Regions from separate parts of the Homo sapiens genome. Here region 1 is linked to region 2. The links are contacts of gene promoters, found by promoter capture Hi-C in human tissues and cell types (Jung and others, 2019). All regions are on one chromosome and are shown on one strand. Each heading gives the region's core, a stretch centred on a gene start or on the middle of the fragment in contact. The rest is flanking DNA. Distances are from core to core; before and after follow the strand shown.

The links. Contacts are between HindIII fragments. The study calls those that stand out against the background at their distance.
Region 1: a contact is called between the fragment with the promoter of EFEMP2 here and a fragment that was not itself captured in region 2, in 1 of the 25 tissues and cell types used here (dorsolateral prefrontal cortex).

The regions. Positions count from the first base shown.
Region 1 is chr11:65,869,435-65,874,685 of GRCh38, reverse strand. It overlaps EFEMP2 (EGF containing fibulin extracellular matrix protein 2), which reads left to right and starts at 1,886. Exons shown (of 11, transcript NM_016938.5): 1 at 1,886-2,003; 2 at 2,325-2,442; 3 at 2,668-2,716; 4 at 3,323-3,529; 5 at 4,028-4,150; 6 at 4,449-4,565; 7 at 4,710-4,829. The coding sequence starts at 2,332. RefSeq lists a silencer at 824-883. The HindIII fragment of the contact is 15,058 bases long and covers 1-4,908 here.
Region 2 is chr11:66,327,167-66,332,603 of GRCh38, reverse strand. RIN1 (Ras and Rab interactor 1) reads left to right here. Exons shown (of 10, transcript NM_004292.3): 10 at 1-2,363. The coding sequence ends at 328. Among named protein-coding and RNA genes, the nearest start is that of RIN1, 6.5 kb to the left of the region's middle. The HindIII fragment of the contact is 6,220 bases long and covers 1-4,447 here.

The sequences.
Region 1 (5,251 bases), core at 637-3,136, 460 kb after region 2:
GTCATGTGATAACATTTTGAGGAACTGCCAGACCATTGTCCACCAACAGTGCATGAGGGCTCCAGTTTCTCCGTATCTTTGCCAACACTTGTTACTGTCTTTCTCGTTTTAAAGAGCTATTATTATTATTACTATTTTTGAGATGGAGTCTCGCTCTGTCGCCCAGGCTGGAGTGCAATGGCACAATCTCGGCTCATTGCAACAACTGCCTCCCGGGTTTAAGAGATTATTCTGCCTCAGACTCCCGAGTAGCTGGGATTAGAGGCACGTGCCACTACACCAGCTAATTTCTTTGTGTTTTTGTAAAGACAGGGTTTCACCATGTTGGCCAGGCTGGTCTTGAACTCCTGACCTTGTGATCTGCCCACCTTGGCCTCCCAAAGTGTTGGGGTTACAGGCGTGAGCCACCGCGTCGGGCCTATTATTATTATTATTATTTTAAGATGGAGTCTCCCTCTGTCACCCATGGAGTGCAGCAGTGTGATCTGGGCTCTCTGCAACCTCCACCTCCCGAGTTCAGGTGATTCTCCTGCCTCAGGCTCCTGAGTAGCTGCGACTACAGGCACGCGCCACCACGCCTGGCTAATTTTTATATTTTTAGTAGAGACGGGGTTTCACCATGTTGTCCAGACTGGTCTCGAACTCCTGACCTCAGGTGATCCACCTGCCTCGGCCTCTCAAAGTGCTGGGATTACAGGCTTGAGCCACCGCGTCCGGCCCCTAAAGAGCTATTATTTAACCTTCTGCCCCAGCAGCTGGGAGGGATGGTGGTGGCAGAGTGGCGAGGAGCGGGCACTGCGCAGTTCACCTGAGCCCCAGGCGCTCGCCGCGGGACCCACCAGCACGTCCCCTCCTCGGCAGACTCCCTCCCCGGGGTCACGTGGAGGGCGACTGCGGGGATAAGCAGGGATGGCAAGGGGAAAGGAAGGGCGGGCCCCAGGCGGGGGATCCCCGGACACGCAGTGCTTTCCCGCCTGGCCCCGCCCAAAGACGTGGGCAAACAGAGGCCACGCCCTTCCTGGGAGCCAGCCCCGCCCATACTCCGCCCCAAGGACACGCCCCCACTTCGGGCGGAGGCGGAAACCGGGCGGGGGACGCTGGTGCGAGGAGGTCGAGGAGGCGCCTTGGCACCCGACTCTGGCATCCCGCACGTCCGACATCAGCCCTGCCCTCCTTCTCAGGGGCTTCCATTCATTTTGTGCCAAAAGGGAACTGCCGCCCTCGCCCCCAAACTTGTAGCTTTGTGGATGGAGGGTGTGGGGGAGGCCGTGTGTAGTGAAAGGACCACCCGGCTGAAGACGGTCCTGGGGGTGGAGGGCAGGAGGGAGCGAGAAGGACAGTTCTGCTCCTGGGAGCCTCTCGTTCCTGGGCGAGGGTCTGGGGACCCTGGATGAAGTTTTAGGATCTTTTACAATGACGGTCTGGGGCAGAGAATAAAATTTTGCAGGGAGCAGATTGAGGGTCTGGAGGACTGGGTTAGGTGGGCTCTAGGTACCCAGGACGATCTCGGGAGGCGCACAATGAGAATCTGGGGGCTCCAGGATTACGGTGTGGGTGCACAGGATGAAATTCTGGGGGCGCAGATTAGGTAGGACCTAGGTGAGCAGGATGACATTTTTGGTGAGCGTCTGGGGGCCCCCGGGTGAGTCTGGGGGCCTGGCATCAAGGTCGGGGCCCCAGGATCGAGCACTGGGGGACCCTGGTCCGGCGCCGGGAGGCGGCTCCTGGCGGCGCCGCGGGGGACCGGGTAGGGGCCTGTGGCTGGCCGGGGGCGGAGAAGCGGGGGGTCGGGGTCCCTCCCCCTGGCGCTGGCTCAGGAATCCGCCGAAGGGCGGGCGGAGGCGCCGGGGTGGGCCGCGCCGCGGCAGGCGGGCGGGCGGGGGGCGCTTCCTGGGGCCGCGCGTCCAGGGAGCTGTGCCGTCCGCCCGTCCGTCTGCCCGCAGGCATTGCCCGAGCCAGCCGAGCCGCCAGAGCCGCGGGCCGCGGGGGTGTCGCGGGCCCAAGTGAGTGGCTGTGACCGTCCGTGGGGGAGGGCGTGGGCCGGAGTCTCGGCCGAGTCCGCGGCAGCGTAGCGCCCACAGAGGCCCGCGCTCCTCGGCCTTCGCCGCAGGGGCGCGGGGCGGGGGCGGGGTGGCCGGGGCGGGTGGGCCTGGGACCCGGGCCTGGGACCTGGGCCTGTGAGGAGTCGGCCCCCAGCCCTGGGAGGCCCCGAGGCCCAAGCACGGTCCTGAGCGGGCAGTGGCGGGGGCTGGGCTCGGGCTCCCGGTACAGGGAGTTGAGGTGCCGCGGGCAGAGGCCCCTGACCCGTGTCCACCATCTCGCAGCCCCAGGATGCTCCCCTGCGCCTCCTGCCTACCCGGGTCTCTACTGCTCTGGGCGCTGCTACTGTTGCTCTTGGGATCAGCTTCTCCTCAGGATTCTGAAGAGCCCGACAGCTACACGGTGGGGACAGTGAGGGCCGCTGGCCTGGGACAGGAAGGGTAGGGAGGAAGAGACCGGGACCCAGGGTGACTGCTGCCGGGGAAGTCTTCCTCCCCTGGCTGGTGGAGAGCTGGGGGCCATTGTTTGGAGCAGGCCGGAGGGTGGCCAGGCTCAGGCCCTAGTCTTGGCCTGGCCAGTTGGAGGAGATCTTAGGGTGACCACTGGCCACTTCTGGTTCCCTTCCAGGAATGCACAGATGGCTATGAGTGGGACCCAGACAGCCAGCACTGCCGGGGTGTGTGTGCCTGGGGGACCAAACACCCCCAGGAACCCGGAAAGGGATTGATAGCTGCTTTCCAAGGGACAGCCCCACCTCCAAGAACTGCCGTGGGAGCCCAGCAGCCCGTTCTATGCCCAGCTCTGCTACACAGAGGCCAGCTCTGGCTCTCTGGAGGCCAGTTGAGCTAGGGGTGGCCTCATCCTCTCCCAGAAACCCAGGAAACCTTGTCCCTACCCCTCAGAGGAGCTGGATCCTGTACGCCTTCTCTGAACCACTCTCCTGTCCCAGCTCTTTGTCTCATCACAACCTGGGAGGGTAGCGTCCCCAGGGGTGGGTAAGGAGGCCCCCCATCTTGGGCTGAGCTAGGGCTAGGGCCGTGGGGAGGGATAGAGACCCACTTGCAGGCCGAGAATGAGGGCAACAGTGGGAACAGCTGCCCCATCTCCAGCCTTGGCCAACCCTGGGGAGGGGTCCTGAGCAGGCAGACTTAGCTTGTTGAGCAGAGTGGGAAGGCTTTGCTGGGGCCACACATCTCAGAGAAGGCCGAGCTGGGTTCCTGCCTCCGCTCCCTCCAGGGCCAGCCCAGGAGACTGGCTGTGCCCAGCAGGCCCCTCTCTGCAGATGTCAACGAGTGTCTGACCATCCCTGAGGCCTGCAAGGGGGAAATGAAGTGCATCAACCACTACGGGGGCTACTTGTGCCTGCCCCGCTCCGCTGCCGTCATCAACGACCTACACGGCGAGGGACCCCCGCCACCAGTGCCTCCCGCTCAACACCCCAACCCCTGCCCACCAGGCTATGAGCCCGACGATCAGGACAGCTGTGTGGGTGAGTGGGGACTGCTCTGGTGCCTGGCTTCCAGTCCTCTCACCAGGCGTCTTAAACTCAGACCTCATGTTCCTCCCCAGCTCAAAAGGGCCACTGGTGATGTCCACACCCTCATCCAGACACTCATGTTGTTTAGGACCTGCCGCAGGTGGCCCCAGCTTGTGTGCCACTGCTCCAGCCAGCTCCGGGCCCCTCCCCTCGGTTGCTGCAGAGACACTGCAGGAAGTCTGCCTTCCAGTGTCTGTCCCCTGGGAGCCACAGGCCTTGGAGGAAGGACAGTCCAGGAATCAGTGTTGCTGGGGATGTTTGGACAGGACCTTATTTCCTGTGCAACCCCCAACATGTGGTTTTAGAGGTTAGGGGTGCCTTTCCTGATGGCTCCAGGCTGGTGAACTCTTACGCGTGCTGTTGAGAGAACCGAATACAAGTGTTGGAACTATCTGTCATGTTGGGTGGTGTGCGGGATCCCAGGCAGGGGCTGAGTGGTGTCTCTCGCAGATGTGGACGAGTGTGCCCAGGCCCTGCACGACTGTCGCCCCAGCCAGGACTGCCATAACTTGCCTGGCTCCTATCAGTGCACCTGCCCTGATGGTTACCGCAAGATCGGGCCCGAGTGTGTGGGTGAGTCCAGGAAGCAGCTTCTGTAGTCCCGGCTTTGTGTCCCTGGTCTGGCCCTTGCCCTAGCACCTGACCCCCATTCAAGCCAGGCTTCACCCCCGGCCCCTGCCACCTCACCCTCCGTCATCAGACACAGAGGACTGTAGCGGGGAGTGTTTGGGAGGTGTCCTGGCTGACCCTGCCTAATTCAGCTCCTCGGACACAGGATTATGGGTGGTGAAGCCTTGAGTCCCAGCCGGCTCGAGCCCACCTGCCCTCTGCCCTCTGCCCTCCGCCCTCCTTCTCCTGCCTCTATCCCTAGACATAGACGAGTGCCGCTACCGCTACTGCCAGCACCGCTGCGTGAACCTGCCTGGCTCCTTCCGCTGCCAGTGCGAGCCGGGCTTCCAGCTGGGGCCTAACAACCGCTCCTGTGTTGGTGAGGCTGGGCTGGGCCAGGCTCCTGGGTCCTGGGCAGGGAGGTGTGAGGTGGGGGCGCTCCCTTCTTGACCAGCCCAGGTAGAGTGGAGGCTCTGGGCTCCTCCTCCGCTTTCATCCCTCCTGTTTTTCCTGGCACCCCCAGATGTGAACGAGTGTGACATGGGGGCCCCATGCGAGCAGCGCTGCTTCAACTCCTATGGGACCTTCCTGTGTCGCTGCCACCAGGGCTATGAGCTGCATCGGGATGGCTTCTCCTGCAGTGGTGAGAGCTCCATCCCTGCTGTGTACTCCTCTGTGGACCCCCAGGCCCTAGCTATGCCGTGCCTCCTGCCACACAGTTCTCCATTTGAGGCCTCCGCCTCCTGTCACTGTGCACCCAGCTGCCTCCTGGGTACTCGACCCCGGCTGGCTGTGGAGCACTCCCAGGCTAGTGGGGGAGGCACAAGGAGAGGCAGCTACGTCCTTACTGAAGCCTACTGGTGAGACTGAGGATGTGGGTGCCACCTGTCCCACATATCAGGCTCACCTGCATTTACCTGCATTTGAATTTTGCACTAGGACAAGTCACTCCTCTCTGAGCCTGTTTCTTCTTCTATAAAATGGGTTGTCTTGAGGATTAGGTGAGAGTGTGATAGATGGGCTCCAGCAAGTCTCAAGCTGCAGTGCTTTAAAGTGAATGAACTG
Region 2 (5,437 bases), core at 88-2,587:
GTACAAGGAGCAGGGCTACCACCGCCTGCCCCCTGGGGCCCTGGCCCACAGGCTGCCCACCACTGGCTACCTCGTCTACCGCCGGGCGGAGTGGCCTGAGACCCAGGGGGCTGTGACAGAGGAGGAGGGCAGTGGGCAGTCAGAGGCAAGAAGCAGAGGGGAGGAGCAAGGGTGCCAGGGAGATGGGGATGCTGGGGTCAAAGCCAGCCCCAGGGACATTCGGGAACAGTCTGAGACAACTGCTGAAGGGGGCCAGGGTCAAGCCCAGGAAGGCCCTGCTCAGCCAGGGGAACCAGAGGCAGAGGGAAGCCGGGCAGCAGAGGAGTAGCTTGAAGTGGCCAGAAGGGTCATTCGGGGCGGGAGACCCTGAGCCTGCTGAGAAATCCTTTTAGCGCCAGCAAGCCCCACCCAGGGCCCTGTCCTGTGTCTGCCACCACCTTTGTCTGATACTTGTTTCCAGGGAAGCTGGGGGAACTGCCACATCTGAGGAACTGGAATAAAGATGAGGGGGCTTCGGGGGCCCCCAGACTGTGTGCCCAAGGCCCCTTGCCTCTTGTTCTTCTCCCCCAGCTGAGGGTGAGCCAGCCTGCAATGAGGGTGTGCCAAGTGGGGGCGAATCCGACAGATGCCCAACCTCTGACGTGGGGAGGGTGACGGTCTCAGCTCCTTTTACCCTTCCCCTCATGGGCATGGCTGAGGCAGGGCTCCACCCAAGTATCTCCCACCAGGCTGGGACTTCCAGACCCTAAAAGGTTCCAATGGCTCTTAGGTGTCAGGAGGATTTAGAGAGGCCACAGAACAGCAGCAAAGGCTTGGGGCCCACCCCTGTCCTGGACACCAGAAGGACCTGCACCTGCAAGCCTCAGTACTCTCATCTGTAAAGTGGGGACACTATTGCTGCCCTGCTCGGCTCCCAGAAGTGTCCCAGTGATCAAAATGGGTGATTTTGCTACAAGCAGAGCTCATGGCAGAAAGGGAGGGAGAGAGCTGGGCTGCTAACTCTCTCCCGGAGTCCGCTCTCTGCCAGACAGGGCTCCCACCTGCTGATGCCCAGTTCAGGGAGGTTATTCCCCTGGAAATCAGGCCCTGGGGAGAAAGTACCCAAGTTACAGTCTCTCCCCAAGATTTGGAGTCCTCCCAGGCCCTCCAGCATCTCTGGGGAGATCCACCAGCTGGCAGATAAGCTTCCAGAATGGAGAGGGGGCTCAGAAACCATGCTCTCTGCACTAAACTCTTGGCCCTCACAAAAGCTTTACTTGGCCATGACTTGTTGGGCCCACTGAGGGTCAGGAAAGTGACTCCCAGGATGTCATATAGCAAGTCCTTAAGGGTTCCCCCGCCCAAACCAGGGCATCAGGTTCCAACTCCACCCTCCATTCTAAGCCACCCACAAAGGCCGGGGCAGCCCCCAAGGAAGCCCAGAGCAGGCAGCAAATCCAAACAAGGAAAAGTGCCGACCACCAACCACGAGGGGGTGTGCACGGCCCGGGAATCTGCCGAGAGGGTGACCACCCAGGGGTGAGGGCGCCTCCAAGGCTGCAGCAGCAGAGGGGGTCCCGGGCCTTGCAGTCCAGCAGCATCAGGCAACCTGGGGACAGCGCAGGGGCCAAGGCCACTGGCCCCCAGGTCCCTTAGATTCTGGGGTCTGGGTAAGGCCAGCCTCTTGGGGGCCATCCCCAGGAAGGAAGGAATTGTCCCCTTATGGAGGATGACCCCAGAGGCTCTCTCCTCGGGCACTGAGCACAGAGGGGACGTCAGCCCAAATGTCAGACATGACAACTGGGAGGTAGAAATCGTGGACATTGGCTTTTTGGGTTTTTTTGTTTGTTTGTTTGTTTGAGATGGAGTTTTGCTCTGTCGCTCTGGCTAAAGTGCAGTGGTGCCATCTCGGCTCACAGCAACCTTCGCCTCCCAGTTCAAGTGATTCTCCTGCCTCAGCCTCCCGAGTAGCTGGGACTACAGGTGTGCACCACCACACCTGGCTAATTTTTGTGTTACTAGTAGAGACGGGGTTTCCCCATGTTGGCCAGGCTGGTCTCAAACTCCCGACCTCAGGTGATCCGCCCGCCTTGGCCTCCCAAAGTACTGGGATTACAGGCGTGAGCTACCACACCCAGCCAGACATTGACTTTCAGATGAGCAGTCCAGATACAGCCCAGTTGCACGGCTCCCATTTTTTTTGTCACTAGGCCACCAGCAGCTCTTCCCTCCCCACTTCCACGCCCTCCCAAGGTTCTCGCTGATAGGAAGTGTCCCGTTGGCTCTTCTATTCCCCTCCCTGTTTCACCACTCACCCCTAGTGCCTCACACAGTCCAATGCTGAGCACAAATGCCATAGGTGTTCAATAAATGTTGTTCACTGATTGGAGTTTGATAACCAGGAGTGAGGGACAGTGAGGCAGAAACCTGGGGAGTATAAGGGAGGACTCGGTTCTGGGAATCAAACACGGGATGTGTCAAGCTCAGTCCCAGAGGAAGGACCTGGAATGTTTGTAGAGGGTGCTCGGAGGATCCCAGGGGCCGGATGTACAACTGGCCTCATGGGAATGAGGCTCTGGGGCCTCTACAAGCCCTTCCCACCCTTGCCAGGCTCAGCATGACCTGACCCCCTCCCTGCCCTCCCCAGTGATGGGGCACCACAGGGAGCTGCTGCCTGGGTCTTGTGGTTTTTCTTCTCAAGAAACTCTGGGCTGGGCCTGGTGGCTCACGCCTGTAATCCCAACACTTTGGGAGGCCGAGGCCGGTGGATCACCTGAGGTCAGGAGTTCAAGACCAGCCTGGCCAGCATGGTGAAACCCCGTCTCTACTAAAAATACAAAAATTAGCCAGGCGTCGTGGCACACACCTGTAGTCCCAGCTACTGGGGAGGCTGAGGCAAGAGAATCACTTGAACCCGGGAGGCAGAGGTTGCAGTGACCCGAGATCACACCACTGCACTCCACCCTGGGCAACAGAGCAAGACTCCATCTCAAAAAAAAAAAAGAAATGAAAAGAAAACAAAAAAGAAACTGATTGGTCAGGGGTCCAGGCCAAATCAGCATCAACAAGATTATGATCCTGGGGCAGAGCCTCCAGGCAAGGCAGACAATGATAGGCCAGTGTAAGACCAGTCTCACTAGCCCCATTTTACAGATGAGAAAACTCAGACTTGCTCAGGGAAAGTGCCTTGTTACAGGACAAAGGGCTCAGACACCAGGTTCTGTAGTCCTTCAAAGCAGAGGGGCTGATTTATATGTCCACTCAGCACATCTATCAAACATCTGTTATAGGCCGGGCAAGGTGGCTCAGGCCTGTAATCCTAGCACTCTGGGAGGCCGAGGTAGGCAGATCACCTGAGGTCAGGAGTTCAAGACCAGCCTAGCCAACATGGTGAAACCCCATCTCTACTAAAAATATAGAAGTTAGCTGGGCAAGGTGGCTCACGCCTGTAGTTCCAGCTACTTGGGAGGCTGAGACTGGAGAATTGCTTGAACCTGGGAGGTGGAGGTTGCAGTGAGCTGAGATCACACCACTGCATTCCAGCCTGGGCGACAGAGCAAGACTCCAAAAAAAAAAATCAAACAACAACAACAACAACAGAAGTGTCTGTTATAGACCAAGCACCAAGCGCCCCCAGCTCCAGCCAAAGGGAAATAGGTCACATCTCTCCATTTGCATGGCGTGATCTGGGTGGTAACTGAAAGCTCACTGTGTCCTAGGGATTCCATGCCACCCCTTCCCCAGCCTTTGTCCTTATGGAAAAAGAAGCCAAGGCTCCAAGAGGTGACATGCCTGGCCCAGCGTCCGCTGCTGCAGGGCAAGACTGGAACTCTGACGTTTGGATCTATGAAAGAGCAGTCGGGTCATTTCCTTACTTGGAAGCATTGACCTTATCACTCCTAAAGTCACGGTGGTTCTGTATGCAAGTTTATTGTCTGTTTCCCTCACTAGAATGCCAGAGCCACCCCCACCTTGTTCGCAGTTAAATCTCAAGGGCCTTGAACAATGGCCGGGCCGGAACTGGCACTTGTGAATCTATGTGGAATGACTGATTCGGAAAGACGCAGCCTAAACTGTCCCTCCGCTTTCCTGGGTTGCAGGGTGGCGCATCCTTCATTGCTGCCACCAGGGGGCAGAGCGCACCTCATTCCTGGCCACGTGCAGGGTCCCCTCTGCTGAGGCGGAGGACCCAGGGGACTCAGTGCTCCCAGCCTGCTGCTAGGAGGAAAGCACCCAGTGGTGGGTCCCTGGGACCCTGCGAATGGGGGGTGAGGGAAGGGCTGCATATCCCTGGTTCTGTGGGCCAGTGTGCTCTAGGAACCAGGGGCCTACTGGTGGCCTGAAAGGGTTGCAGCAGAAGGCAGTCATTGAGACCCACCCTACCCTGCCACACCTTCAACACAGAGCATCTAGCACCCTGCCATGGCCTTGCAACCCATGTTCACACCCACAATTAACACACAGTGACACTGTCTGACCCACATTCCCACACAGGGTGCACATCCTGCCAGCCACGGGCACGTGCAACAACCCTGGGGCACCCCCAGGGTTAACAGGCACACCCTGACACTGTCAGCCATTCACTCCTGCGGGATGGGGTGCAGGGACACACTGGCGCCCCTCCTCCCAGACACACCCTGACACAGACCAGCCACCCACTCAGACATCCCTGGATCTGCAAACACTGAAATATTTCAGCACCCTTGTTCTTGGGTTCAGAGTGTGACTCCTGGACACACACATGGGGACAGGCTGACACAGAGACACATGGTGACCACCTACACTGGGATCCCATGATGCACTAGACCTACCTGTGCAGAACTGCCACCGGCACACTCCATCCCCCACTCAGACGCAACGGCGCACACTCTCCCGAGACACAGCACACGGCTGCCCCTTCCCACTCTCCAAGCATTTGAAGTGCAAACACACACAGAGACACACTCACAAAGACACACACAGAAACTCACAGAGACATACACACACAGACACACAGAGACACACACACACAGACACACATAGACACACAGAGACACACACACAGACACACAGACACACAAAGACAGACACACACACACATAGACACACAGACACACACACACAGACACACACAGACTTTTATACTTTGGAGCACACAGAAGCGGTCCAAGCCCTCTCCCGAGTCTCCTCACTCCAGCCCTGTCCTGTCCCACCACCACTCACCCACCCCAGCCCATGCTAGACCCTGGTGGGAGATGTGGGTTGCTGGAAAAGACCCCCATGAGGGGTGTGGTGACCCCACTAGCCAGGCAGGAGGCAGAGGCAGGCAACGCTGGGTGGGGAGGCCTGAGCTCATCAGATTCCAGCCTGAGTGATTCACAGGAAGAGCCTGGGGAGGACCCTGGAGGAGACACTGGCCCAGGGGCTGGGGCATTTGGGGCCTGAATGGGCTTTGGACCAGAGGGTCCTGGGTCCAGAG